Regions from separate parts of the Homo sapiens genome. Here all the other regions are linked to region 3. The links are contacts of gene promoters, found by promoter capture Hi-C in blood cells and fetal thymus (Javierre and others, 2016). All regions are on one chromosome and are shown on one strand. The core of a region is centred on a gene start or on the middle of the fragment in contact, and the rest is flanking DNA. Distances in the headings are between cores, read along the strand shown.

Region 1 (2,892 bases), core at 110-2,609, 640 kb after region 3:
AGCATTTTGGGAGGCCGAGGCAGGTGGATCACCTGAGGTCAGGAGTTCAAGACTAGTCTGGCCAACATGGTGAAACCCCGTCTCTACTAAAAATACAAAAAAAAGGCCAGGCGCGGTGGCTCACGCCTGTAATCCCAGCACTTTGGGAGGCCGAGACGGGCGGATCATGAGGTCAGGAGATCGAGACCATGGTGAAACCCCGTCTCTACTAAAAAAAAAAAAAAAAAATACAAAAAATTAGCTGGGTGTGGTAGCGGGCGCCTGTAGTCCCAGCTACTCAGGAGGCTGAGGCAGGAGAATGGTGTGAACCCAGAAGGCAGAGCTTGCAGTGAGCCGAGATTGCACCACTGCACTCCAGCCTGGGCAAAAGAATGAGACTCCATCTCAAAAAAAAAAAAAAAAAAATTGGTCGGGTGTGGTGGTGTGCACCTGTAATCCCAGCTACTCAGGAGGCTGAGGCAGGAGAATCGCTTGAACCTGGGAGGTGGAGGTTACAGTGAGCCAAGACCACACCACTGCACTCCAGCCTGGGCAACAGAGTGAGACTCCATCTCAAAAAAAAAAAAAAAAAAAAAAGCTTGCCTGGAATGACGTCTTGATCACTTTTTGGAATGTTTAAAAAACAGTAGTTGAATGCATGAAGTTAGCCATGATTTTGTGATAGAAGTCCAGTTAAGAGAAGTCATTCATTCATTCTCTCTACTGGAACTTGAAGTTCCTAAAATCATTCAGAAAAACCTGTCAACTACAGACAGAAGATAATAAATGAGCATAACATACCAAGACAGAGACGATGTTGACTCTGTGGTTATGGAAAGTGGGAAAAATGCAAAATGGAAGATCAGTTCAATATTTATGGCATAGAAATAAAAACCACAATGATATACCATCTCACACCAGTCAGAATGGCGATTATTAAAAAGTCAAGAAACAACAGTTGCTGGCGAGGCTGTGGAGAAATAGGAACATTTTGCACTGTTGGTGGGAATGTAAATTAGTTCAACCATTGTGGAAGACAGTGTGGTGATTCCTCAAAGATCTACAACCAGAAATACCATTTGACCCAGCAATCCCATTACTGGGTATATACTCAAAGGAAGATAAATCATTTTACTATAAAGATATATGCATGCAAATGTTCACTGCAGCACTATTCATAATAGCAAGGACACAGAATCAGCCCAAATGCCCATTGGTGATAGACTGGATAAAGAAAATATGGTACATATATACCATGGAATACTATACAGCCATAAAAAGGAACAAGATCATGTCCTTTGCAGGGACATGGATAAAGCTGGAAGCCACTATCCTAACAGCAAACTAACAAATTAACACAGGAACAGAAAACCAAACACTACATGTTCTCACTTATAAGTGGGAGCTGAACAATGAGAACACATGGACATAGGGAGGGGAACACATACTGGGGCGTGTCAGTGGGGTTGGGGGAGGGAGAGCATCAAGATAAATAGCTAATGCATGTTGGGCTTAATACCTAGGTGATGGGTTGATGGGTGCAGCAAACCACCATGGCACATGTTTCCCTATGTAACAAAACTGCATGTCCTGCACAGGTATCCTGGAACTTAAAATAAAATTCATAAAATATGGTATAGGATGAGTGCAAGAAACGCCCACTGTGAGTGGACTGCAGGTGGTGGTCCTGTCCAATTGTTTTCAGTTAGTTACAAGGACCTCTTTGGCCACAGTGGGGACCCTCCTTGAGGCAACCCTCTTCAGCCACCCTCAGGTCTGCACTGCTCCCTCTTCAAATCTGCCGCTGTCCTGGGTGTGATTGTGTTAGTGTGAACCTTGTCATTACTGCCTTTCCCCAGTCTCTTGAGGGCCTTTCATCCCTCAGTCATCTGGGGCTCTCTCTGGCTTTCTTCTCTGATTCCCATCCATCAAACATGGCTCTCAGCTAGGTGTCTGGTGGAAATGAGTTCATAAATTAATGCACACAGAAGAATAAATAAATAAGTTATCAAGCTCAATGTGCTTCCAAGAAATACTTGCATTTTAGTGGAAATCAGTCCTTTAAGAAATGAGGTCTAATGGTGGTGGAGAGAGGGAGGGAGAGAAGAAGGAAGGGACTAACCTTTACTGAGTACCAATCATTTTATTCGGTAAAAGCTTGTGGAAGGAATGAAAAGTACACTGGAGACTTTACTAATTCTATCTCATTAAATGAGCAAAGTTCGGGCCCACTGTCAATTTGGTGAGAGGCAGAGAGACACTGCTGAGGTTGCATGCCCTTTTTCTTCTCAGAAGGCTCCCAGAGGTCACCTTGAACTTCCTGTCAGATCCCGAATTCTTCTCCAGCTTCTGGAGTCTTCTTTCCTCTACAGCCAGGGCCGCTCAACCCTCTCCAATTCTATGGCTGATCCTGGACCCAGAAGAGAGGGATGTAAGGAGTTCCCAGTAAAAGGAAACGTCAACATACACAGAGGGTCTGTTGGGGAGGTGCTGGATGGGCAGGGCTCCAAGACCTCCTGCCCTACCCAAGCCAGAAGAGCTCTGCTTCGCCTGGGTTTACATATTGGGTTCTCTGTAAGGCTTCATTTGATACAAAGGTTCTAGATCTGAGAATCATTGCTCTAGGCCAGCATGCTGAGACTCAAGACATCTGATCACCAGCCTGGGCAACAAAAAGTTGTCTCTACAAAAAAGTTAAAAAAAAAAAATCAGCTGGAGGTATAGTGGTTCATGCCTACTGTAGTCCCAGCTACTCAGGAGGTTGAAATGGGAGGATCACTTGACCCTGGAGGTCAAGGCTGCAGTGAGCTGTGATCGCACCACTGCATTCCGGCCTGGGCAACAGAGTGACACTCTGTCTCTCTCACACACACAAAAGGCACGTGATCAGCTAGCATGACCCTATTCCTGTGC
Region 2 (3,153 bases), core at 236-2,735, 660 kb after region 3:
GAATCTGAACGTCTGAATATCTGGGATTGTAATTTTATCCAGGAAAACACACTGGTGTCACGTTAAAGAGGTCAAGCAGCTAATGGAAAAATACCATCTAGTTACCTTATCATGAAACATCTCCTTTGGCTTCTCGCTCTTCATAGGTTGATCTGCTTAACTATTTGGATTTAAAAGAAAGAAAGATCTCATGGCATCAAATCTTATTCTTTGTCTTCAAATACTTCTATTATAAAACCAGTTCCTGTTTATTATATAAAATATGGCCAAGCAAAAAGAGGACGATAAAAAGCTACCATAAACCTGCCACACCAAATAAATATTTTAAAATGAAAGATATAAAGAATATAAAAATATGGTAGATATAAAAGTATGTTGGTGTATAGCACCTTTCAGTAACTTTTATACGAAAGCCTGGTTTTCTTACTGTAGGTTGTCCTGACTGTAATGCCGAACTCCAAATAAAATATTTAAAAGAACAAAGGAAGCAAAAGTCTTTGAACTTTCTTCCCCTAAACGCTTAATTTTTTTTGTACTTAAATGTGAGATTCCTCCACAAAGAGGCCAATGTTTCTTTAGTTGGATTTTCATCGACTTAGACATTCTTCCATCTAAATTCCAAATGGGGAGGGATGGAATGAACAAAGGAAAACTCATTTGATTATCCAAAAAACTCAGGAGAGTTTGTTATTTACCATGTGAATTGGTAACTTCTCACTGACTCCTTTATTTGAGGAAGTGGCATGAAGATGAGACAGTGTTAGGTGAGACAAGCCCTTCAGCCTCTTTAATTAGAATGGGAAAGGACTGGATTAGCTTTGGCTTCTCAGTTTTATAGGCTCCCTTCTTGGGAGGCTGAATGTGATTGCCTTAATTTAACAAGGTCTCTGTTCACCTGGAAGGACTCATGACAGAGTTGGGGACCTATATGATCTCCTTTGGCACTTTTGCAGTTGGTAGAACAGATACTTCTGTTAATGCAATCCAAGTTTGTTTTCAGTTTCTCTGAACAAGGACAAAGGCAAATCCCTCTTGCTTTCCTTTTATTTTGGTAATAGTCTCATGGCTTACTTTTTAATTTAATGCCCTAGTCTTCTTTTAAGTCAGTTTATAAGTGTTGGTAACATGCTAATGCAGTTTGTTAGAAGTAATAGAAATTCAGGACTTGGATTTCTTTTGGAACTCAGCCAGCTTCTTCAAAAAGGAAGGCTCTGAAATTTCCAACCTCTTAATAATTCATTCTCAGTCCTTCCCTATCTTCACCATTCCTTTTGAATTTTTAAACTTTTTAATCAAGGTTTTCATTTGCGGGGGGTGGGGGGGGGCCTTTACTGAAGTCAAGTAATTCCACCTTCATGAAGTTCTCACAGACCAGAAGTAGCTTCTTCAGAAGTCTAGAGGCCTCAAATGATAATAACAAAAACACTGAATTATGTGCCTCTTGTGTTTTCAAAGCCTTTGAACCTCTATTATCTCATTCTTATTGGCTGAGGAAGGACTGCTGAGGTTCCTGCATTTCTGAGAAGGGCCATTCCAGAAGGAGCAGGTGCTGGCTGTAAAGCTCACTGCTTGGGTCACTCCTTGTTGGCACAGGAGCATTGGAATAAGGGTGGGAGAGAGTGACAGACTTGGAGTTTCTGCCCAGTGGATCAGTGAATTAACAGGAGCAGAGGACAAGGAGGAGAAGGAGAGATGGAACTGCATCCTTGGGAATAGGCGAAGTCTACTTTGAAGGGTGGACTTGGAAATGATGAAGCGGAGTGGATTGGCATTTGGTTGGGAAGAGGTGGGGAGGGTGGGACAGTATTACATGTTGTAGGAATCTACAGCTTCAGATTAGAGACCAGGGAAACATCCTCATCTGCCTTCCTGCCAATCTTTCGGAGAACACAAGAAAGAAAGTTAATTGTGGTTATAGGTGTTGCTATTGTTGTTTTTTGCTTTTTTTTTTTTTTTTTTTTGAGACAGGGTCTTTCTCTGTCACCCAGGCTGGAGTCCAGTAATGTGATCTTGGCTAACTGCAACCTCCACCTCCCAAGTTCAAGCAATTCTTGTGCCTCAGCCTCCTGAGTAGCTGGGACTACAGGCACACGCCACCATGCTGGGCTACCTTTTGTATTTTTAGTAGAGTCAGGGTTTCGTCATGTTAGCCAGGCTGGTCTCAAACTCCTGGCCTCAAGTGATTCACCCGCTTTGACCTCCCAAAGTGCTGGACTTACAGGCATGAGCCACCGCACCCAGCCTGTTTTTTGAATAAAGGGAGTAAACCAGGTAATTGATGCATGATGCAGGCTCTGCCTAACTGTTCAATGTCAAGTTTCAGTTCTTGCTACCTCCTGCCTCAAACTTTATACCCCAGCACCCTTCACTGCCTTTAGTTCCTCCTCTGTATCAAGCTATTTCAAATTACACCCTCTCTGCTTGGACCTTGTACTCATCCTGCAAGACTCAACTGAGGTAACACCTCCTCCAGGAAGCCTCACAGACACGAGCTCCCCACACCTCTGGTGGTGCTCCTAGATAAAGCTCTGATGTTAGAACCCTAGCTGTGTGTGCCTCTCTCCTTAGACAATTCCTCGAGAGCATAGTCCATATTCTGTTTTTGAAGCTGTAGCCCTCACCACTGAGCTTGGCATAAAGTAGATGCTCATGTCTGTTTGGCTGAACGAATACACGTCTGATGAATGAAAGCACATGATGAAGAAGATCAAGAGTTTTGGCGCTACGGATGTCACTGCAGTGTTAGTGTCATGGCAGTAGGAATTCTCATTCTATTCAATGATGTTTCCCAAATGGTGGAAAATGTGCCTGTCACACGGTGGGTCCTGAAACAAAATTTTTAAAATAAATTAAGAAGGAAGAAACATTTTTGGAAGTGATGTACAAGTGGCAAGTTACAGATTCTTTTGCCATGTCAAAAGATTTTAAAGAGCTTTTCTTGAAGGCAAGCGTTCTTTTCATGAGAGACCCGCTTTTTCATCTGGAAGGAAGCTTCAAGGCACAAAGTCTTCTGCAGCTTACTCATGTGCAGTAGAAATTTTTTTTTTGTTATTCACGTTACACAGTCTGCAGTGAGCCTAAGACCCGAGTCTTCTGAAGTCTCAGGGCCATGTAGGGCACACCACTTGGTGCAGAGACTGCAGTGCCCTGTCC
Region 3 (2,964 bases), core at 294-2,793:
CGATTCTCGTGCCTCAGCCACCCAAGTAGCTGAGATTACAGGTGTGCGCCACCAGACCCAGCTAATATTTGTATTTTTAGTAGAGACGGGGTTTCACCATGTTGGCCAGGCTGGTCTCAAACGCCTTGACCTCAAGTGACCCACCCGTCTCGGCCTCCCAAAGTGCTGGGATTACAGGTATGAGCCACCGTGCCTGGCCTAGAATTTCTTATCAATGGAATCATACAATATGTATTAATTTTGTGGCCTTTGAGAAGTTTTTTAACTGTAAATTGGCTTTATAAATTAGCATACCTTTGAACTCACATAAAGGATGAAGGTTGAATTAGGGTAATTAATCTGTACCTCCCTGAATTGGTTTTGATTCCAAAAATATATACTAAATATAGTTTCCTGTTCCCTATTACAATAGAGTTCATATTTACTACAGTGAAACTATCATTTTCCACTCAGTTGAGACGTTACAAGACTTTAAGCCCCATGAAACATTCTATTTCGTGACCACTGTATACCCAGTGCCAACACTGTCTCACACATAGTAGTTGCTGAGTAAACATTTGTTGACTGAATGGATGTATTTCCCCTGAATTGCTTCTACATGTCTATGTTAGATGACTGGGGTGCTTTTATTTTTTTAGAGATAGGGCCTCACTTTGTCTCCCAGACTGGAGTGCAATGGCGCCATCATGGCCCACTGCAGCCTCCAACTCCTGGGCTCAAGTGATCCTCTTGTGTCAGCCTCCTGAGTAGTTGTGACTACAGGCGTGCGCCACCATGTCCAGCCAATTTTTGTACTTTTTGTAGAGACGGGGGGTCTCACTATATTGCCCAGGCTGGTCTTGAACTCCCGGCTCAAGCTATTCTCCCGCCTCAGCCTCCCAAAGTGCTGGGATTACAGGGATGAGCCACTGTGCCCAGTCGGGATGCTTTAATGTTAGAAACTTAATTACCTTGCGTTTTTAAAGGAATGTGTGAGAAGTGCCCTATTCTGCCTCAAGTGATGGCAGAGGGTGGAGATTGAGACTGGAGGAAGCCCTGTGCAGTACATATCTGTAAGTCATGAAATAGCATCATTTTCCTTGTCTGGTCATATTAAAACGGTGATTAAAAAATCAAGAAAATAAAATCCCACTAGCAGTGTGTCCGAGAATCTTTGTTTACCTCCTCCCTATTGTTATGTCATGACATGGAGCCCAGCTGGGGAATTCTGAATACTAGGTTCTAAAACAGGATTTGTCATAAACGAATTGCTTGATCCTGGACATTCACCTCTAAAATAGACACCTGACCTCGGTGTGTGTGTGAGTGTGGTGAAAATCAAGTGGGAGGGAAAGTGAGCAAGCACCTGAACAAGGTACAGAGGCGCGCGAGGTAGTACCATAATACCATCTACACCAAGGTCTATACTATCCCTGGTCTCCGCTGCGTCCGCCGGGAGGAGGCGGTGCAAGAATGCGCACGCGCGGCCCCGGGCCCGGCCACACCCTCTTCCGCCGCTCCCGCCCAGCGACCTCGCTCCCGGGGCGACGCCCCGCGTGCGCCAGAGTCGCCGAGGTCGTCCCCGGCACCGGAAGTGACCCTGGCGGGTTTGTCTTCAAATTCTCGGCGAGCAGGAGCCGCGCCGGCAGGTGGTGTTGACGATTGAACTGGGCAGTACTGGGGCCGTGAGCGGAGAGCAAAGTGGGCTGGACTGGGTCAGGCCCTCCTTCCTCGCTGCCGGGATCTCCACTCCGCCAATCCCCTGTGCCTGGCGTTGGGCGGTTTCCCGAGGAGCTTGGGCCGCCGCAGGTGAGTTTTCACTCTGGCGGTGCTCTGGGGACCCCCGATTTTCCAGGGCCGGGCTGGTGAGGGACTCGGGGGGCCCACAGCGAGAACCCGCCGCGCAACCCTCCGTGAGCCTGCCTGTGCCTGAGCTGAGGTCCTAGGTCCTTGCTGTTGTCCACGATAACTTGGCTTAGGTGACAGTCCCCCTACCTGAGGAATCCTGTCAGGCGGAGGACTTTTCGGGGGCTCCTGTCGATCCCATCTTTTGATCTGTGTCGTTAGCGAAGTCACCAGCCGAGTTTTTAGTTCTTCGATTTTTCGACTGGTTCTCTCCAGAACCCGCTCACGCCCCCCACCCCGAAACCCTCACAGGTAAAAATCCCGATGGCCATGACATTGGGAGGCAACTTCTTTTCTTAAAATTTGTTAGGTTCGAGTGATATTGTTGGGGATGTTATTTCTTATTTATTCTAGAGCCCGGCGTCCTCTGGAAGGCCTGTGGGCCTTTTGGTTTAGAGTTGGTACCTTTTAGAAAAGTTTTCCCTCGAAACAGTTGTTTCATACAAATGTGATGACAAAGTTAGAGATAAACGTAGATCCTGAAGTGCCTTACAGTGGATAATCTCAAGCTCTTATTTAATCAAAAATAGTTTCCTGTTAAAACCGCGAAGGGCCGCTTTTATATTAGTTACTAACTTCCAACAGCACAGTGATGCTCTTTTCTCTTGAAAGCACTAATTTACGTCTTCCTCTTTGAAATTAGACCTCTAGTTATTGCTGAAAACATTCCCGATGTTTTAGAATGGGTGCAGTAGATCTTTGTCACGTAATCACAATGATAATCACCTTAGTAGATGTTAAGACAGATTCTTGAAATGTTTTTACGGGCTTAAATGTCTCAGTATAAAGCCCTATTTTCTTTTCCAAAAGAGCTGGGTTTTGTTCTTTTTTTTTTTTTTTTTTTTTTTTTTGAGACGGAGTCTTGCTCTGTCGCCAGGCTGGAGTGCAGTGGCGCAATCTTGGCTCACTGCAACCTCCGCCTCCCGGGTTCAAGCGATTCCCCTGCCTCAGCCTCCTTGAGTAGCTGTGACTACAGGCGCGCTCCACTACGCGCGGCAAATTTTTTGTATTTTAGTAGAGATGGGGTTTCACCATGTTGGCCAGGCTGGTCTCGATTTCCAGACATTGTGATCCGCCCGC

Evidence for each region. Contacts are between HindIII fragments. The CHiCAGO score rates a contact against its expected background, and 5 or more counts as called.
Region 1: a contact is called between a fragment that was not itself captured here and the fragment with the promoter of KATNA1 in region 3, in 1 of 17 cell types (activated CD4 T cells). The highest score is 10.3, in activated CD4 T cells.
Region 2: a fragment that was not itself captured here is called in contact with the fragment with the promoter of KATNA1 in region 3 in 1 of 17 cell types (activated CD4 T cells); the score reaches 5.6 in activated CD4 T cells.

What each region holds. Positions count from the first base shown.
Region 1 is chr6:149,004,800-149,007,691 of GRCh38, reverse strand. All of the region lies in intron 5 of UST (uronyl 2-sulfotransferase), which reads right to left. Among named protein-coding and RNA genes, the nearest start is that of UST-AS2, 26 kb to the left of the region's middle. The HindIII fragment of the contact is 1,559 bases long and covers 580-2,138 here.
Region 2 is chr6:148,987,382-148,990,534 of GRCh38, reverse strand. All of the region lies in intron 5 of UST (uronyl 2-sulfotransferase), which reads right to left. Among named protein-coding and RNA genes, the nearest start is that of UST-AS1, 24 kb to the right of the region's middle. The HindIII fragment of the contact is 3,017 bases long and covers 1-2,993 here.
Region 3 is chr6:149,647,293-149,650,256 of GRCh38, reverse strand. It overlaps KATNA1 (katanin catalytic subunit A1), which reads left to right and starts at 1,543. Exons shown (of 11, transcript NM_007044.4): 1 at 1,543-1,788. RefSeq lists a silencer at 1,324-1,593 and an enhancer at 1,664-1,743. The HindIII fragment of the contact is 10,327 bases long and covers 1-2,964 here.